Regions from separate parts of the Homo sapiens genome. Here all the other regions are linked to region 1. The links are contacts of gene promoters, found by promoter capture Hi-C in blood cells and fetal thymus (Javierre and others, 2016). All regions are on one chromosome and are shown on one strand. The core of a region is centred on a gene start or on the middle of the fragment in contact, and the rest is flanking DNA. Distances in the headings are between cores, read along the strand shown. Region 1 holds the start of NUAK1 (NUAK family kinase 1). Region 2 holds the start of LOC105369959 (a long non-coding RNA gene). Region 3 has its middle 66 kb from the start of CASC18. Region 4 overlaps CASC18 (cancer susceptibility 18). Region 5 has its middle 13 kb from the start of CASC18. Region 6 overlaps LOC107984435 (a long non-coding RNA gene).

Region 1 (2,700 bases), core at 119-2,618:
GCCCCAGTGAGGTCCACTGGTGGAAAAGAACCGCCATGCGATCTGCAGAACACCAGACCTTCTTCAGCCTTCACTCTTCCCACCCTAGTCTGGTACATTGCACCACTTGTTAAAAAAAAAAATTTCCCTAAGACCTCTTTTTCTCTAGCCTTCTTCCTTATTTTTCATGGTCTCTTCTTAGAACGGCGGCAGCCACGCCGCGGTGGGAGGCCCTTCCTGCCTGACCCTTACCGTGCGGGGTACCGTTCCTGTCACCATCGCCAGGATCTGGCCCTTTCAGTGAAAGGAAATCTCCCAAGGCCTAAGGAGGCAAGAGGCCTGCAAATCGCCTCCTGCTCAGCAAACGGGTTGCTCAGCAGGCCCGGGGTCCTGGTCCACCCCAGGTCCCTGGTTTGCCCACCTCCGATGGCGGCCTTCGCTGGCAGGGTGGGCGCCTCTGGGGAGCCAGCTCCGTCCCGGCGCCTTTAGAGCCCCATCTCTTCCACGTCCCTGGCCTTCCTCCCCTTCCAGGCGGCTGTCCCCGCCGGGGTCCAGATGGTGTCGGAGGGCCGGCGGTTCGACGGCGGGCCCGGGGTTCAGCCTCCCGGCCTCCCTCCGTCCCTGACTCTCCTTTCTTCGGAGAGGGCGCGGGGGCCGGGGCCAAAGCGCCGCTCTTGGGGTTCTCCTGGACTCGGAGTTGCCCCAGGCGGGCGCAGCTCTGCCCCGCGGGGTGCCAGCCTCGGGCGGGCAAGGTCCGTGAGTCACCGCCTGTAACCGAACACCAGGCCTCCCTGCCCCCTCCCCCAGCTCCGGCCGCCAGGCTGCGGCGACACCTACAAGAAAATGAAGGGGCGCCCAGGCCCGCGGCGGCCCCGGCCGTATCGCGAGCAGGTCCCGGCGGCCCCCGGCTCGCGGCGCTCTTTCTTCCCCGGCCCCGGGGCTCGGCCAGCCGCAACCGCCGCCCCGGCGCCAGCAGGAATCCAGGCCGAGCGACCGGCCCCGGAGCCCGAGGCGGCGGAGGGCCCGCGGTAGCTGCGACTGGCGAGCCCGAGAGCGCCCGGGGAGGGGGCGCCCGGCTTGGAATTTCCCGGTCCCTTCCGGCCCAGCGAGGACAAAGCACTCCTGGCCGCCGCCGCCGCCGCCGCCGTGGCCTACGCCGCGCCGCACAAAGGGCGAGTCGCGACACGCTCCCATCCCCCTCCCAGCTCACGGCGGCCCCGGCCCCGGGTGGCTGCAGGGAGGTGGGGGAAGCCCTGGCTGCACCGCCCCTCGCTCCCCCTCCCCTGGGGCCGCGCGAGCGCCGCCCCCGCCCCGTCTGCGCGTCCTCCCGGGGAGGGGTTGGGGGGCGCGGCGCCCCACATAACACTCCCCCTCCTGCGCTGCGAGCCACCCTCTCCCCTCCCTCCTGCAAACACCACCGCCTCCCCTGCCACCGCCGCCACCTCGCCCGACGCTCCACAGCTCGCCGCGGCCGGGGGGCGGTGCGCGGACCGTGCGCGCCGCGGGCGCCAGATGTGCAGTCCCCGCCGCCGCCAGTGACCGAGCCGCAGTCCGAGCGGTATCGGGCCGCCTCCCTGATGCTGCGGGGGCGACCTTGAGCGTACAGCGGCTTCCCTCGGTGGGGACCCCGACATCCCAGCGCTGTGCCCGGTCTTGCCCTCTGTAGCCCGGCTCGCCCCGCGCTTGGACATGGAAGGGGCCGCCGCGCCTGTGGCGGGGGACCGCCCCGACTTGGGGCTGGGGGCGCCGGGCTCTCCCCGAGAGGCGGTGGCGGGGGCGACTGCAGCCCTGGAGCCCAGGAAGCCGCACGGGGTGAAGCGGCATCACCACAAGCACAACTTGAAGCACCGCTACGAGCTGCAGGAGACCCTGGGCAAAGGCACCTACGGCAAAGTCAAGCGGGCCACCGAGAGGTTTTCTGGCCGAGTGGTGAGTGGGGCAATCCTGGAGGGTGCGGGGGGCGCTGGGTGGACGCGGCCGGGGACTGAGGGCGTGCGAGGCGGGGGTCTGTGCGCCCTGGGGCTCTCTTGACAGAGAGGGGGCTCATTGGGAAGCCCCGAGACAGACTCCTCACTCTTTCTCCAGCACCCCGTGACTCAGGCGTGTCTCTGTCCTGAAACACTTGTTACATCCTGTCTGCACATATTTTATTTTATTTTTTGGTTTGTTTTTAAAAATTTAATCCTAGCAGCAAAGGAATGTTTTAGATTTGCAAACACTTTGCAGCGTTGGGACGGCCGGGGTCTCTCTCCCTCGCAGGCACTCATTTAGACCATGCCCCGAAACGTCTTATTTCCACAACTCTCCAAAGAACCACATTCCCAGCTAGGAGCTAGCCCCTCAAGTCCGGTGTTTTGTAGGTGTCCCTACCCCCTTCCACCCATCTGCCCGCAGCTCCTTGCTCTGCATCCTCCCACTCAGACTCTGCATCGCCCTGATACTGCTGTGACTGCAAGGGAGGGCGACTCTTGCCTGTTTTTGAGACAAGGTTAGGGAGCAAAAATAAAGACTACTGCAAGCCTGAGGATTCTAACAGTTTGCATCATGGCTTTGGGAGGACCGAAATGTCCAGGGCATGGGTAGCTACAGAGATAGCTGTGCTTAGTTGCAGCAGGCTCAGTTGTGTTTCAGCTCCTGGTTGCAGGGCTACCAAACCGCTGAAGGGGTCTGGCCCCGCTGCTCTTGTGACAGCTGACACCCTGCCAGGGTCCTGGCACCATT
Region 2 (2,700 bases), core at 72-2,571, 430 kb after region 1:
TTGAGACCAGCCGGGCCAATACGGTGAAACCCCCTCTCTGCTAAAAATACAAAAATTAGCCAGCATGGTGGTGCATGCCTGTAGTCCCAGCGAATTGGGAGGCTGAGGTAGGAGAATCACTCGAACCTAGGTGGTGGAGGTTGCAGTGAGCCAAGATCACGTCACTGCACTCCTACCTGGGCAACAGAGTGAGATTCCATCTCCAAAAAAAAAAAAAAAAAAGACTAGGATCCTAAATAGTCAATAGACAAGGAGTTTCAAGGTTAAAATTCTTTCCACTCTCTTTCACCCATACATAAATAGTCTGTGTTCTTATTTGCCAATGCTAAACAGAGGCCTTCCTATGTGATTATTTATGTTGTCAAGTATATCACATAAAATATAAGACATAAATTACTCTATGTGTGGCTTCTTATCAGCTTTGAGTATACACATTTTCAGCCTCAATGTGAAATCAGAGTTTGCTTCTAAATGGTATCTGGACATACAGAATTTGTAAAGAAATCTATCCTCTTTGTTTAAGAGAAGATATCAATGTAATTTTGCCTCGTGCAGATTCCGTCCTTATTTTTTTTTTTTACTTTAACTACTTTAAAAACCTTTTTTTTTTCCCAGTACAAAAGGTGAATCCATTTCACGAGGAGGAGCTCAGTCAAATTTTATATGAGGGGAGACCAAGTTTGATCTTGCCGAGAGATCCTCGTTCTGTAAACCCCGTAAGTAGGAGTGTGAAGGGAGAAAGCCAGAAACGGGTTTTAATATGGATGTGCAAAAAAGTTCAAGGAAAGACGAAGAGGAAAAGAAAGCAAGCCTTCCATGTTTATCTGCTCCATCTATTTCCTGCCTGTAATTTATGCCATAGGTTAATTCCCGGGAAGTAGGAAAAAGACTCACCTTGTACTACAGTTAAATCTTGTGGAGAATAAGTAAAATTCCAAACATATCCCAAAGTAATGTAAGAGCAGAGGCCTCTTATTTTGCAGAGGAAAGAGGCCTCCTAAAAATGCTGCACACAGATGTTTAAGCATCAGAGAGACATGGACTAGTAGATCCTTGGAGCGAAAAGGTGCAGAGAGAGAAATCGCCCAGTCCAGAGGAAGAACATGAACCCCGGAGTGGAGAGGAGTCCCTCCCAAATTTACAGGGCAAGTCAGCGGCAGAGCTGGTCTAGAAACTGCACCCCTGACTTCTAGCCCCTGCCTGATTCTGTGCGCCCATGTAAGCTCTAAAGGACGCCATTCACTATGTGGTCCCAGTCAAATCTTCTATGTGCTATGTACGATGGTTGACCCAAAAAGAATTGTCTCATCATTGCCCTTCCCCTCCCCTCTGCAAAACAAAACAAAACAAAAAAAAACCTTGTGGCTTTGTCCTTACTAGGCAACAATTTCATCACACTTTGTCATTTAGTAAGTATAAAACAGCCAGCCAACTTCTAAGGACAGAAATACACATCCCCGGTCTAATTCTTGCCTCTAGCCTTTCAAAGCTCAAGGCCTGGCTTTGGGGCAAGAGGGTCCACGTGTATATGTGTGTGTGCACGTGTGTGCATGTGTGTGGGTGTGTGTGGCAGGGGATAGAAAGCCCATCACATGTACCTGGAACACAGCTTTGATCCACATCTTTCTCAGCCCAGTAAAAAACTTGTAGCCACTAAAGCATCTGAGCACTGAAGCATCTTAACCACTAAAGCATGTGGGGCATTGTCATCTGACCCCACTGCCATAGGCCCCTTTTTACAGATGGCTGAATACTTTCTCAATGAGGCCATTGCACTTGCCCTGAGGGGGAGGACCTCTCATCACTCACCTGCTGCCATTCTTTTCCAGGGCCCAGAACAATCCCAGGGGCCTTAACTACAGACTCTAATTGGGCGCATCAGCATCACGAGTAGGACTCAAGTAAGAAAGGGGCATATTTATGTTTCTTATCGTGCGTCTACAGGGAGGGGCTGAAAAGGACTCAAAAGCCTATGAAAACTTGTATTGCAGATGGGGAGGAGGGATGAGGGTAGAAACAAAAAATAATATACAGCACTTTATCCAACCATTTTATAACAAGTTGAAATCAGGCTCCTTCCAGATTGAAATGGATCCTCCAGTCCCATAATTAAATTGGGAAAATGAAGCCATTTCATGCCTTTGGCTCCCTTTGATCATTGTTATTTCTGTGACTAATGTGTAACTGGAGCTGCTTTTTCTGGGGCATGAGCCTCGCCTGGGCAGCTGCTAGGAGAGTGTGGCCTGGTCTCCTGTTGTCAGCGCAAGCTGACGGCAAGGCCAGGGCTCAGCAAGGTCAGGTTAGTCTCAGCCAAAGTGGACTGGAAGAGATGCACCTGCGCTGACAAGCAGCTATCTGTTCCCATTTGCCTCTGACTGCATTTCTCCAGGGCCTCCCTTGTCCTGGAGAACTCTTGGGTGGGAACTGGTGTTTTTTCCCTTGAAAGGAAGAGATAGAGGACATTTCAAGAGATAGGAGCAGAACATTGCCTCTCAAATTGTAAAGAAGGTGACTTCTGAAGCTCATCATTTTAATTTTCCCTCCCCTTTGTCCCTCATCAACTTCTATTCCTGCATCCTCCCTAACCCCTCCATGCGTGCATCACACACACACATACACACACACATACACTCACACTCACACGCTGGGCACAGCAGGCATGCAAGCACAGTTGGGAATTCTGTGAGTCCTTCTAGACTA
Region 3 (2,708 bases), core at 116-2,615, 370 kb after region 1:
CCCACTGTGCCTACAAGTGTCTAGTTGCTGTAAGTCTCACAAAGCTTTAATGCCCAGAAATCATTGCTGGTATAAGAATTTTGTCCACCATAGAGAATTTTAGCTTAGTGGTGAAGCGACCACTCATGAAATTAGTCACGTGCAGACTGTATTTCTACCCATCCTCCCCAAGCCTGGCTGACACAGACTTCTTTTTCTCTATATTTTTCTTTTTTAATTTTTTTTAATTCTTTTTTTTTTTTTAAATAGAGATGAAGTCTCTCTATGTTGCCCAGGCTGGTCTCGAACTCCTAGGCTCAAGTGATCTTCCTGCCTCAGCCTCCCAAAGTGTTGGGATTACAAGCATAAATTATCACGCCTGGATGCAGTCTTCCTTATAAGTGGCATTTTTATATTTCCCTTACATTGGAACATTCCCACACAAACTCAAGATGATCCCAAGGTGGGCATGTTGCCAAAGTCCTTTTCCTCCTTCTCCCCAAACTGCTTCTTTCTCCTGGCTTTCCAGTTTGGGTAAACGGCACCAACCTTCTCCCAGGCACCAGACTTCCAACATGGGTGGTCATGTTAAACATTTTTCACTTTGTCTGCAAGCCATGAATATTCCATCTGAAACCCATCTCCTCTTTTACTGTGATCATACCAATTCAGAACCACTTACCTTTCACCTGTGTTATTTCAGGAGCCTTTGTCTGCTCACGGAAGTGAGCTTACTTGCTCTTGGGAAGCTTTTGGTAGCAAGAGGCAGTTCTGATCCTTAAGTCCATGTTTCCCACCTGCTATGGACTCAGCTGTGTCCCTCTCCCCACCCCAAATTCATGATTCTTATGTTGAAGCCCTAACCCCAAATGTGATATTTGGAGATGGGACTTCTGGGAGGTAATTAAGCTTAGATGAGGTCACAAGGGTGGAATCCTTATGATGGGATTAGTGCCTTTGCAAGAAGAGGCACCAGAGAGCTTATTTTTTCTCTGTCTCCATGCACACACGAAGAAGGGGTCATGTGAGTACACAGCATGATGGCAGCCATCTACAAACCAAGAAGGGAGCCCTCACCAGAACCTTATCATGCTGGCTTCCAGATCATGGACTTTCAGTACCCTGATCACGGACTTCCAGCCTCCAGAACTATGAAAAAACAAGTGTTGTTTAAGTTGCCCAGTGTGTGGTATTTTGCTGCAGCAGCCTGAGCTAAGACACCACCCAAAATTTGCTACAATTAATACACAGATCCAGGAATGAGAGCAGTTATCATAGATGCTAACTATTTGGAAGAACTTCTTTGACCAAAGTCCTCAGCCTCTGAAAAGGACCACTTTCCTTATGAAAATTCATGCTGTCTATACGTTTTTGGGATAAGTCAGTTTCATTACTTATGTGATAATCACACCTCATGTCATCTTGTTTTCAAAAATAACTGTTTAAATTGCTATTTAAATGTGAGATGTATGGTCATGCAGGGGGGTTCTCAGTTTTTCCTTCACCGTTCTGGCTAAAAAAACAAATAAAACAAAACAAAATACAAGTAGCTGAAACATTTCCCTTTTAAAATTTTCCTGAAAACAACTATCTGGGTTAGTAAGATAGACAATCATCTGCTTATCATTTCAGTGCTCATCACCTTTTTTCCTAAATTCGTTTATATTAGCAAAGCCCAGTGATTAGCAAAGCCCCTGACTCTTGGATGTTCTTAAGGTTTTTCATCTTTTGGGTCATGCTTGCATGTCTTTCATGTAAAATCAGACTTGAGGCCTCAGCCTTTGAAAATAGCAGAGTCTGACAGGATTGTTGGAGGTTTCAGGAGAAACAAAAAGCAGCTTAAGGAGGGGTTTTGAAAGCTTTTATATATGTTAATTATAGTCACTGAGGGTCAAAAGACAGGGAAGAACCAAACCAGAAGGAGAAAAATATTGTAGGTATGAGTCTAGTAGTCAGGGTGATGTTAAGTTATGCTGCAGTAACACACTCCCAGACTGCAGTGACTTTCACATGAACATTTATTTTGGTCACATAAAGTTCTTTGCCAAGTCTCATGACTCTCCAGGGAAACTCCTTCCCAGGTGGTGGTTCAGGGAGCCAATATGCTTTTATCGTGTGATTCCAGTAGCTTAACACATGGCTCCTAAGGTCACTGAGTTTAGGAAAGATAGAGCCAGAGAATTATAAAGGAGCTTCTCAATACCTCAGCCTGAAAATGATACACTGTTACTTTTGTTTATAGTCCACTGGCCAGAAAAAGTCATATGGCTTTGCCTGACTTGCAAGGCAGTGATGAAGTGGGTGAGCTCATGCATATTCAATGAGCAGTCAGTGGCTTGGCCTCAAGGGCAAGGCTCAGGTCAATTAATTTACTTTTAATTCAATTACAAGGCAATCTCCTAAAACGTATGAAATTTTCATCTTTATATTTCTTATTTTCTACTCTAGAAACTGTAGCAGAAGAAGGAGAGGTAGAAAAGGGAGAATACTCATTTACTCTTTGATTTGGCTTTAATTTCCTTGGCAGACAAATTAATTTTACATTTTATAGAAGTTAATACTTTTTAAAAGAGCACCACAGAATAGTCTACATTCTAACCCTGATTATTTCAGTAGCTAATCTATGACCTCGGCTGTCTAACTTTGTGTCTCTGGTTTTTAGCGTGCACATCAGAACACTGGGCACGGTAATTCGCCTTCTTCACTAAGTTATTGCAAAATTCCAATTC
Region 4 (2,700 bases), core at 98-2,597, 410 kb after region 1:
GAAGTAACTCAAATGTCCATCAGTAACTGGGTATATACATTGTAATACAGTAGTCCCTCAGTATCTATGAGGGATTGGTTGCAGGACCTCCCTCGGATACCAAAATCTGCGGATGCTCAGGTCCCTTACATGAAATGGTCTAGTATTTGCACATAACCTACAGGCATCCTCTCGTATACTTTAAGTCCTGTCTACTTACAATACTTAATATAATATAAATGCTACATAAATAGTTGTTTTACGGTATTTTTAATTTGCATTATTTTTCATTGCTGTATTGTTATTTTCTATTGTTCTTTTTTTCCTGAATATTTTTTATCGCAGTTGGTTGAATCCAAGGATGCAGAAGCTGCCAATACCGAGGGGGCTGACTGTATATACATATAAAGGGACACTCCTTAACAATAAAAAAGGACACATACAATACAAAATAGTTACACTGGAGAAAATCCAAACCAAAAAAGAGTACATGCTATGATTTTATTTACATAAAAATCTAGAAAATGCAAAGTAATCTATAATGACAGAAAGAAAATCAGTAGCTTGCTAGAGATGAGAAACCAAGTGGGGCTGGAGAAAGAACTTGTACATGAACGATTACACATGAGCAAATTTTTTGGGTTGATAGATATGTTCATTATCTTGATTGTAGCAATGGCTTCACAGGTATATTTCTATGCCCAAACTTATCAAATTATATACTTTAAATATTTGCAGTTTATTATATGTCAATTATGCCTCAATAACTGTTCAAAAGACACACCGTAGTTTTGGGTTTTTTTTTTTTTGTTTTTTTGTTTTTTTTTTTTTTTGAGACGGAGTCTCACTCTGTCGCCAAGGCTGGAGTGTAGTGGCGCAATCTCGGCTCACTGCCAGCTCCACCTCCCGAGTTCACGCCATTCTCCCGTCTCAGCCTCCCAAGTAGCTGGGACTACAGGTGCCCGCCACCATGCCCGGCTAATTTTGTTTCTGTATTTTTAGCAGAGACGGGGTTTCACCGTGTTAGCCAGGATGGTCTTGATCTCCTGACCTTGTGATCCTCCCGCCTCAGCCTCCCAAAGTGCTGGGATTACAGGCGTGAGCCACTGCGCCCGGCCGACATATCGTAGTTTTTAAATGATGAGCTGTTAACATAAAATTTCAGGCTTGATAACAGGGTTTTGTCATATTAATGAGGGATTCATTTGCAATTGTTCTCCATTTGAGATAACTCCCACATTCAGCTGGTCTCTTTTTGATTACATTATTTCATTTACAACATTAGATTGTTCTAAATACATTTTTTAATCTACTGGTGTGGAGAGTTACCCATGCTATAATTTGGAGCGATTAAAAAGCAAGTTGCAGAGTAAAATGCATGGTATAATATCTTCTTTTGTTAAGAAAAAAATGAGCAAAGCAAGAACATATGTACCTGTATTTATACATGTTTAACATGTTTGAGCATAGAGGAAAGTGGTTGGGGATGGCAACAGGCACATAATAGTTTGGATATCTAGTTGTTAAACAAATCTTATCCAAAAGCTAGAAACTATACTTTTCAACTTGGGAGATGATGGTCAGTGAATTCCTAATAGATCCATTTGTTGCCTTCTGTTCCCAAAAGTATTTCTTCATGGCATGTTGGAGCATTTGGATGTGGTTTTAAAACACGGCCAATAATATAGCATCAGTGATTATTTTCAACAAGCAAAGAAAATTAGCAAGCATTGGAAATGAATCAAATTCCCAGTAATGGAAGTGTTTGTTCCACTTTGGTTTTCTTAAGTAATCCTAATATCTTATCTAATTCTTGACATTTATAGTCATAGCATTTTGAAACTGGAGTATGTATATTGAGACAGTCTGCTTGAGCAAACCACTTAAAATGAATTTTTTAGAAGGTATTATAATGTCATAGAAAAATGTGGGTTTTTTTCCCTCATCCTTCATTTGAAAAAAAAAAATTGTAAGAACACATTCTCCCTCAAAAGCTAGCATACTCTAGTGCCAGAAAGCAAAATGTTATTTATTACTCACTGCTTAGTTAATAACAAAGAGCTAGAAAAGACATATACTCATTAGATGGAATTGTTGGGACTTGTGATTTTCACCAATTCTTTCAACCCTGAATCAAGAGCAGGAGGCAGAGTCGGGGCCACCTTGTTGTATAACTTTGAGTGGTCATACAGACGTTGTATTTCCCTGGAGCACAAAGCCAATAGTGTTCCTTGGAGTTGTGTCTGCCAGTTCTCTTTGGATTAAGCAGTGTGTGACCTGGCATTCAGTGCAGCTCTTTTATTTGTGTAGATATGCTTCACTACTGAGTCTAGCCACCTCTTGCAGCCAGCGCATGAATCACAGAATAACTGTTAACTGCATGGAAATGCCCTCTCCTGTGACAGGGGCTTTAAGTAATTAAATGAAACAAGATGTTCTCTTGCACTTTCCCCTCATACGTGTCCTGCATAAAGGCTAGGAGCTGGTTCACACTCTGCATATCAATAGATTCATCTAACAATGAAGCCATAGCAACTTCTTTCCCTTGTGCACTACCAGTAATAAGTCCAAAAGTGTCACTGAATAAAGGAGTCTTGTCAAAGGCTCCGATTTCTCTCAGGGCATAGTATTTTTCATTAACTTGAGGGCATAGTATTTTTTATTATAATCATCTTAACCAGAGTATGGCTAAATATGAATTTGGATGATACTTCAAGAACT
Region 5 (2,700 bases), core at 173-2,672, 450 kb after region 1:
AAAAACACCTTATTCAATAAATGGTGCTGGGAAAATTGAAGAACCATATGCTAAAGAATGAAACTGGGCCCCTATCTGTCACCATATGCCAAAAATAAGTCAAGATAGATTAAAGAATTAAACATAAGGCCTGAAACTATAAAAACCCTAGAAGAAAACCCAGGAAAAATTCTTCTGGACACTGAAGAATGTCCAGAATTTATTACTAAGAATTTATTACTAAGTCCTCAAAAGGAATGCAAGACGATCAAAATGAGACAAATGGGACTTAATTAAACTAAAAAGCTTTTGCAAAGCAAAAGAAATAATCAACAGAGTAAACAGACAACCTACAGAATGTGAGAAAATATGTGCAGTTTTGCAAGGGATAATATCCAGAATCCACGAGGAACTCAAACAACTCAACAAGAAAAACAACAACAACAACAAATAACCCCATTAAAAAGTGGGCGAAGAACATGAACAGAGACTTTTCAAAAGAAGACATACAAGTGGCCAGCAAACAAATGAAAAATGCTCAACATCACTAATCATCAAAGAAATGCAAATCAAAATTACAATGAGAAACCATCTCACACCAGTCAGGATGGCTATTAGTAAAAAGTCCAAAAGCAACAGATGTTGGCAAGGGGAAAAAGGAAGCTTATGCATTGGTGGTGGAAGTGTAAATTAGTACAACATCTATAAAAAACAATATGGAAATTTGTCTAAGAACTAAAAATAGAACTACTCTTCAATCCATCAATCCTGCTACTGGGTATCTACCCAAAGGAAAAGAAATCGTTTTATCAGAAAAGACACCTGCACTCATACATTTATGACAGCACTAGTCACAATGGCAAAATCCTGGAATCAACCTAAGTGTTTATCAATGGATGATTGGATAAAAAACTGTGAGACATACATATATGTGTGTGTGTGTATGATATATATATATATAATATATCTTATATCATACACACACACACACACACACACACACACACACACACACACACCATGGAATACTACTCAGCCATAAAAATGAATGAAATTGGCTGGGTGGTGGCTCATGCCTGTAATCCCAGCACTTTGGGAGGCTGAGACGGGTGGATCATGAGGTCAAGAGATTGAGACCATCCTGGCCAACATGGTGAAACCCCATCTCTACTGAAAGTACAAAAATTAGCTGGGCATGGTGGCGGGCGCCTGTAGTCCCAGCTACTCAGGAGGCTGAGGCAGGAGAATCACTTGAACCCGGGAGGCAGAGGTTGCAGTGAGCCGAGATTACACCACTGCACTCCAGCCTGGTGACAGAGAGAGACTCCATCTCAAAAAATAAATAAATAAATAAATGAAATCATGTCTTTCGCAGCAACATGGATGAAACTGGAGGCCATTATCCTTAGTGACATGACTCAGAAACAGAAAGTCAAAAATTGCATGCTCTCATTTACAAATGCAAGCTAAATAATGAGTAAACACAGACATACAGAGTGAAACAATACACACTGAAGACTGCAAAAGATGGGAAAGTGGAAGGGGGATGAGGAATGAAATACTACCTATTGGGTACAGTGTACACTATTTGGGTTACACTAAAAGCCCAGACTTCACCACTAGACAATATATCCATGTAACACAACTGCACTTGTATCCCAGAATCCATAAAAGTATTTTTTTTTTTTAGCAAAAAGAGTTTGTGAGTTCTGGCAGGTAAAGCTCCCATGAGAATAAGAATTTTCATCAGGATATGAATCTTGCCAGGGCTGTTAAGATGCTAATAATGTTCATTTCTATCACAGGCAATTGATTTGAAACCCATACTTTTTACTGGAGTGTGCATTTGTATTGTTTAGATTGGGTTTAATTATAAGAAAGAGAAAACCCAACCTAGTAGTTTGAACATGCAGGGTTTATTTCCTCATGCAAACATTCCAGATCAACCATACAAGTCTAGTGTTATAATTTCATGAACCTATCAGGAACCTAGGCTTTTTCCACTCACTCTGAGATTCTTACAGTATGGCTCTCATCTTCCTTATTCTAGATGACTGCTGTAGCACCGGTGGTTTTGTCCAAATTCCATTCAAAATGAAAAAAGAAAAAGGAAGGAGAAGGTAATATTCTTTCATTTTGAGGAATACTTGTGAGATGTTGCACACATCTCTTCTGCTTAAGTCCCATTGGTCATGCTTAGTTAGAAGAGAGATTGGAAGCTTTAATGTTACTCTGGGTAAACTGACTCAAATATAAGACGTATGTTATTTAGAGACACAGAAAGAATAGATATTGGGTGACAATGAGCAGTGTCTACACAATTTTCTTGTTGGAATAGAGATTCCTCTCGGATTCTACAATAACAACCATATCTGACCTTACTCTAGTGTTTTAACATTTATATTTCATTATGTTATTAGATCCCTACAATAACTCTGGGAAGTATAGGAGGTATTGTGATATCCATAGGGGAATGAGCAAATTCAGTCTCAACATGTTCAAGTAGCAAGTAAGTGATAAATTCAGGGTTCAACTGGAGTCTTCTGGCACTTGCTTTATTATCCAACAGCTCCTTGTAGGCAGTAGGTATCAAAAGCACGTCCCAGATATGCAAAAAGGAGACTAAGACTCAGAGTCCTGGCATGATCTGGGCACAGAAGAAGTCCTCAGTAATAGTTAGATCCAAGGCCACTTTGTCGTTGGATGAGACAAAGAAGGAAA
Region 6 (2,700 bases), core at 121-2,620, 390 kb after region 1:
CTACACTCGATTGCTACATTTTTAAATGTTAAGTTGGGTCTTGTCATTCCTTTCCTTCGAACCCTCTGGTGAGTTCCAATAGTCCTACAGGGTTTCCAAGCTCTCTATGACCATGTGCCTCATCAAGTCTCTAACAGTATTCCCTGCCATGCTGTAAGTGACTCCACTTCCCTCACTGGTCCCTTTCTTGTTACTTTTTTTTTTTTTCTGAGACAGAGTTTTGCTCTTGTTGCCCAGGCTGGAGTGCAATGGCACAATCTTGGCTCACTGCAACCTCTGCCTCCGGCGTTCAAGCGATTCTCCTGCCTCAGCCTTCATGAGTAGCTGGGATTACAGGCATGCACCACCATGCCCGGCTAATTTTGTATTTTTAGTTGAGACAGGGTTTCTCCATGTTGGTCAGGCTGGTCTTGAACTCCTGACTTCAGGTGATCCACCTGCCTCGGCCTCCCAAAGCGCTGGGATTACAGGCATGAGCCACCACGCCTGGCCCCTTTCTTGTTACTTACATATGCCATGCTCACACCCATGATGGCCTTCGCATAGGCTGTTCCTTCTACCTGGAGAATTCCACCCTACCCACCTGCATGACTCTGCCCCTCACCGCCTTCAGGCCTGGCTTTGTCACACCACCATAAGTCCTTCCCTGGCCAGCTAGTTAGCATAGCACCCTGTCTCCCTGTGTCCTTATCCAGTTTGTTATTCTTCTCAGCACTGACAATTACCTGAAATAGATTATGTGTTACTGTTGGTCTCCTTTATCTATCTATCTATCTATCTATCTATCTATCTATCTATCTATCATTCTGTCTATTTTTGAGACAGAATCTTACTATGTTACCCAGGCTGGAGGGCAGTGGCATGATCACGACTCACTGCAGCCTTGACCTCCTGGACTCAGGTGATCCTTCCATCTGAGCCTTCCAAGTAGCTGGGACCATGGGCATGCACCACTATACCTGGCTAATTTTTCTATTTTTGTACCAGCCAGACCAGGCTGGTCTCAGATTCCTGGCCTTAAGTGATCCATCTGCCTCAGCCTCCCCAAGTGCTGGGATTCCAGGTGTGAGCCACCACCCTGGCTGGTCTCCCTGATTAGAAAGTAAGTAAGCTTAGCAAAAGCAGGTGCTTTTTCTGTTTTTATTCACTGCTCAATCCCTGTTGCTAAGAACAATCCTTGGCACATATTGGGGGCTTAATGAATAATGAATGAATAAACCCTGTAAAGAGGCCCATAAAACACTCCCAGGAAATTCAAACCCCTAAATCCCATTCTTCCATTTTACAGATGAAAACCTGAGGCCCCAAAAGAGAAGTGACTTGGTCAAAGTCACCCAGCAGTTAATGGCAGAGCAAGGCCAGATTCTGAGCCACTCATTTCCCAATCCTGTCCTCTCTCCCTGTGTGTCCCAATGATAGCAGAGGGAATAGATGTCAGCTTCTGCCTATCAGGTGACATTGCAGAGGTTATGGTTCAAAAGGTTATCCCAATAAACTGAAGGCAGAAAGGTCACCAGGTGGCTGAGGCCATGACACTCCCAGAGGAGACGTGATGAGGACCCATCACCTGGTGACTCGGGAAGTCAAAAGGAAGGTCAAAGTCTGGATGACTTTGTGAAAGAAGCTTGTTGGATAATTGAATGTGGTGATAAAAGGCACAGAAAGAAAAAAAATCAAAGTGATAATAAGGAAGGAGGGCCCATTTTTATTTATCTTTGTATCTTCCATGCTAGTACTTAACAGGGGGTACATTTACCCCCAAATGTCTATTGCCAGACCTGGTAATGAGGACCAGAAGGGTCACAATTCATGGTTTTCTAATGAGTCAGGCTTTCTAAGTGCCATGGATAAGAACACAAACTTAGGGTAAGTTACACCTAGGTCAAACCTCATTTCTTTTACCCTCTTTTTGCACAAGTGATCTTGGGCAAAAAAATTATCCTTTCTAAATCTCAATTTTCCCATCTCTAAACCTGGATAATATATGCAAAAGAGAAAGACAGAAGGAGAGAGAGAAAGAGAGAGAGAGCGAGTCAGAGAGAGAAAGAGAGAAAGGGAGAGAGACTAACTACAATCATGTGTATGATGTGCTTACTTAGCGCAAGGCTCAGCACATGTGAGGCCCTCAATAAATGCTCACTTTTCTTTACTACCTCAATGGCTTCTGTCTTCTCTTGAAATCCATGCCCTCTCATTTCTAGTTCTGCAATGTTGAGATCCTGGCTCCTCCCTGCTCCTTCTCAAAGGGGATCTATTGAGAAGAGGAGGGCTGCTATGATTAAATCTCCTTCCCACCTCTGAATTTGAGATGAATTTGGTGCTTTCCATCTGCTCAGCTGGCAGACTTTTCACGAGGGCCTGGGCATCATAATAAATGCATGAATCACATCACCTCTGCTGTATAGTCATGAGAGTAACGTGGGAGCCAGATGTGAATGACCCCAGGGTGGACCTGCTATTAGTGTTTCCAAGTGGTGACGACTTGCTCCCATTCCCATACATATCTCCAACTCTGTGTTGATATCTCACCTTTGATAGTGGCTTTGATTCCGGAGAACTGTTTGAGCCTCATCTCTGGACTCAGAGCAGATGGGAGGGCCTTGGTGTTTCATTTTGAGAACAAGAGAAAAGCTGCATTTCTATCCTGTGCTTGCTCACAGGAGCAGCCCACATTTCACCCTTCGCAGAATCCTGTGTTGT

The links. Contacts are between HindIII fragments. The CHiCAGO score rates a contact against its expected background, and 5 or more counts as called.
Region 2: a contact is called between a fragment that was not itself captured here and the fragment with the promoter of NUAK1 in region 1, in 8 of 17 cell types (M2 macrophages, M0 macrophages, M1 macrophages and 5 more). The highest score is 39.4, in M2 macrophages.
Region 3: a fragment that was not itself captured here is called in contact with the fragment with the promoter of NUAK1 in region 1 in 3 of 17 cell types (M0 macrophages, endothelial precursors and M2 macrophages); the score reaches 7.9 in M0 macrophages.
Region 4: a contact is called between a fragment that was not itself captured here and the fragment with the promoter of NUAK1 in region 1, in 2 of 17 cell types (M2 macrophages and endothelial precursors). The highest score is 6.7, in M2 macrophages.
Region 5: a contact is called between a fragment that was not itself captured here and the fragment with the promoter of NUAK1 in region 1, in 4 of 17 cell types (M1 macrophages, M2 macrophages, M0 macrophages and 1 more). The highest score is 10.1, in M1 macrophages.
Region 6: a contact is called between a fragment that was not itself captured here and the fragment with the promoter of NUAK1 in region 1, in 1 of 17 cell types (endothelial precursors). The highest score is 7.0, in endothelial precursors.

Annotation. Positions count from the first base shown.
Region 1 is chr12:106,137,622-106,140,321 of GRCh38, reverse strand. NUAK1 (NUAK family kinase 1) reads left to right here and starts at 1,368. Exons shown (of 7, transcript NM_014840.3): 1 at 1,368-1,908. The coding sequence starts at 1,669. RefSeq lists enhancers at 1-46, 2,438-2,700. The HindIII fragment of the contact is 5,150 bases long and covers 1-2,700 here.
Region 2 is chr12:105,705,966-105,708,665 of GRCh38, reverse strand. All of the region lies in intron 1 of CASC18 (cancer susceptibility 18), which reads right to left. LOC105369959 (a long non-coding RNA gene) reads left to right here and starts at 639. Exons shown (of 3, transcript XR_945309.3): 1 at 639-716; 2 at 1,830-1,901. The HindIII fragment of the contact is 4,284 bases long and covers 1-2,700 here.
Region 3 is chr12:105,769,213-105,771,920 of GRCh38, reverse strand. No RefSeq gene overlaps it. Among named protein-coding and RNA genes, the nearest start is that of CASC18, 66 kb to the right of the region's middle. The HindIII fragment of the contact is 950 bases long and covers 891-1,840 here.
Region 4 is chr12:105,724,439-105,727,138 of GRCh38, reverse strand. All of the region lies in intron 3 of CASC18 (cancer susceptibility 18), which reads right to left. Among named protein-coding and RNA genes, the nearest start is that of CASC18, 22 kb to the right of the region's middle. The HindIII fragment of the contact is 4,140 bases long and covers 1-2,700 here.
Region 5 is chr12:105,689,496-105,692,195 of GRCh38, reverse strand. No RefSeq gene overlaps it. Among named protein-coding and RNA genes, the nearest start is that of CASC18, 13 kb to the left of the region's middle. The HindIII fragment of the contact is 1,556 bases long and covers 645-2,200 here.
Region 6 is chr12:105,749,054-105,751,753 of GRCh38, reverse strand. All of the region lies in intron 2 of LOC107984435 (a long non-coding RNA gene), which reads left to right. Among named protein-coding and RNA genes, the nearest start is that of CASC18, 46 kb to the right of the region's middle. The HindIII fragment of the contact is 513 bases long and covers 1,114-1,626 here.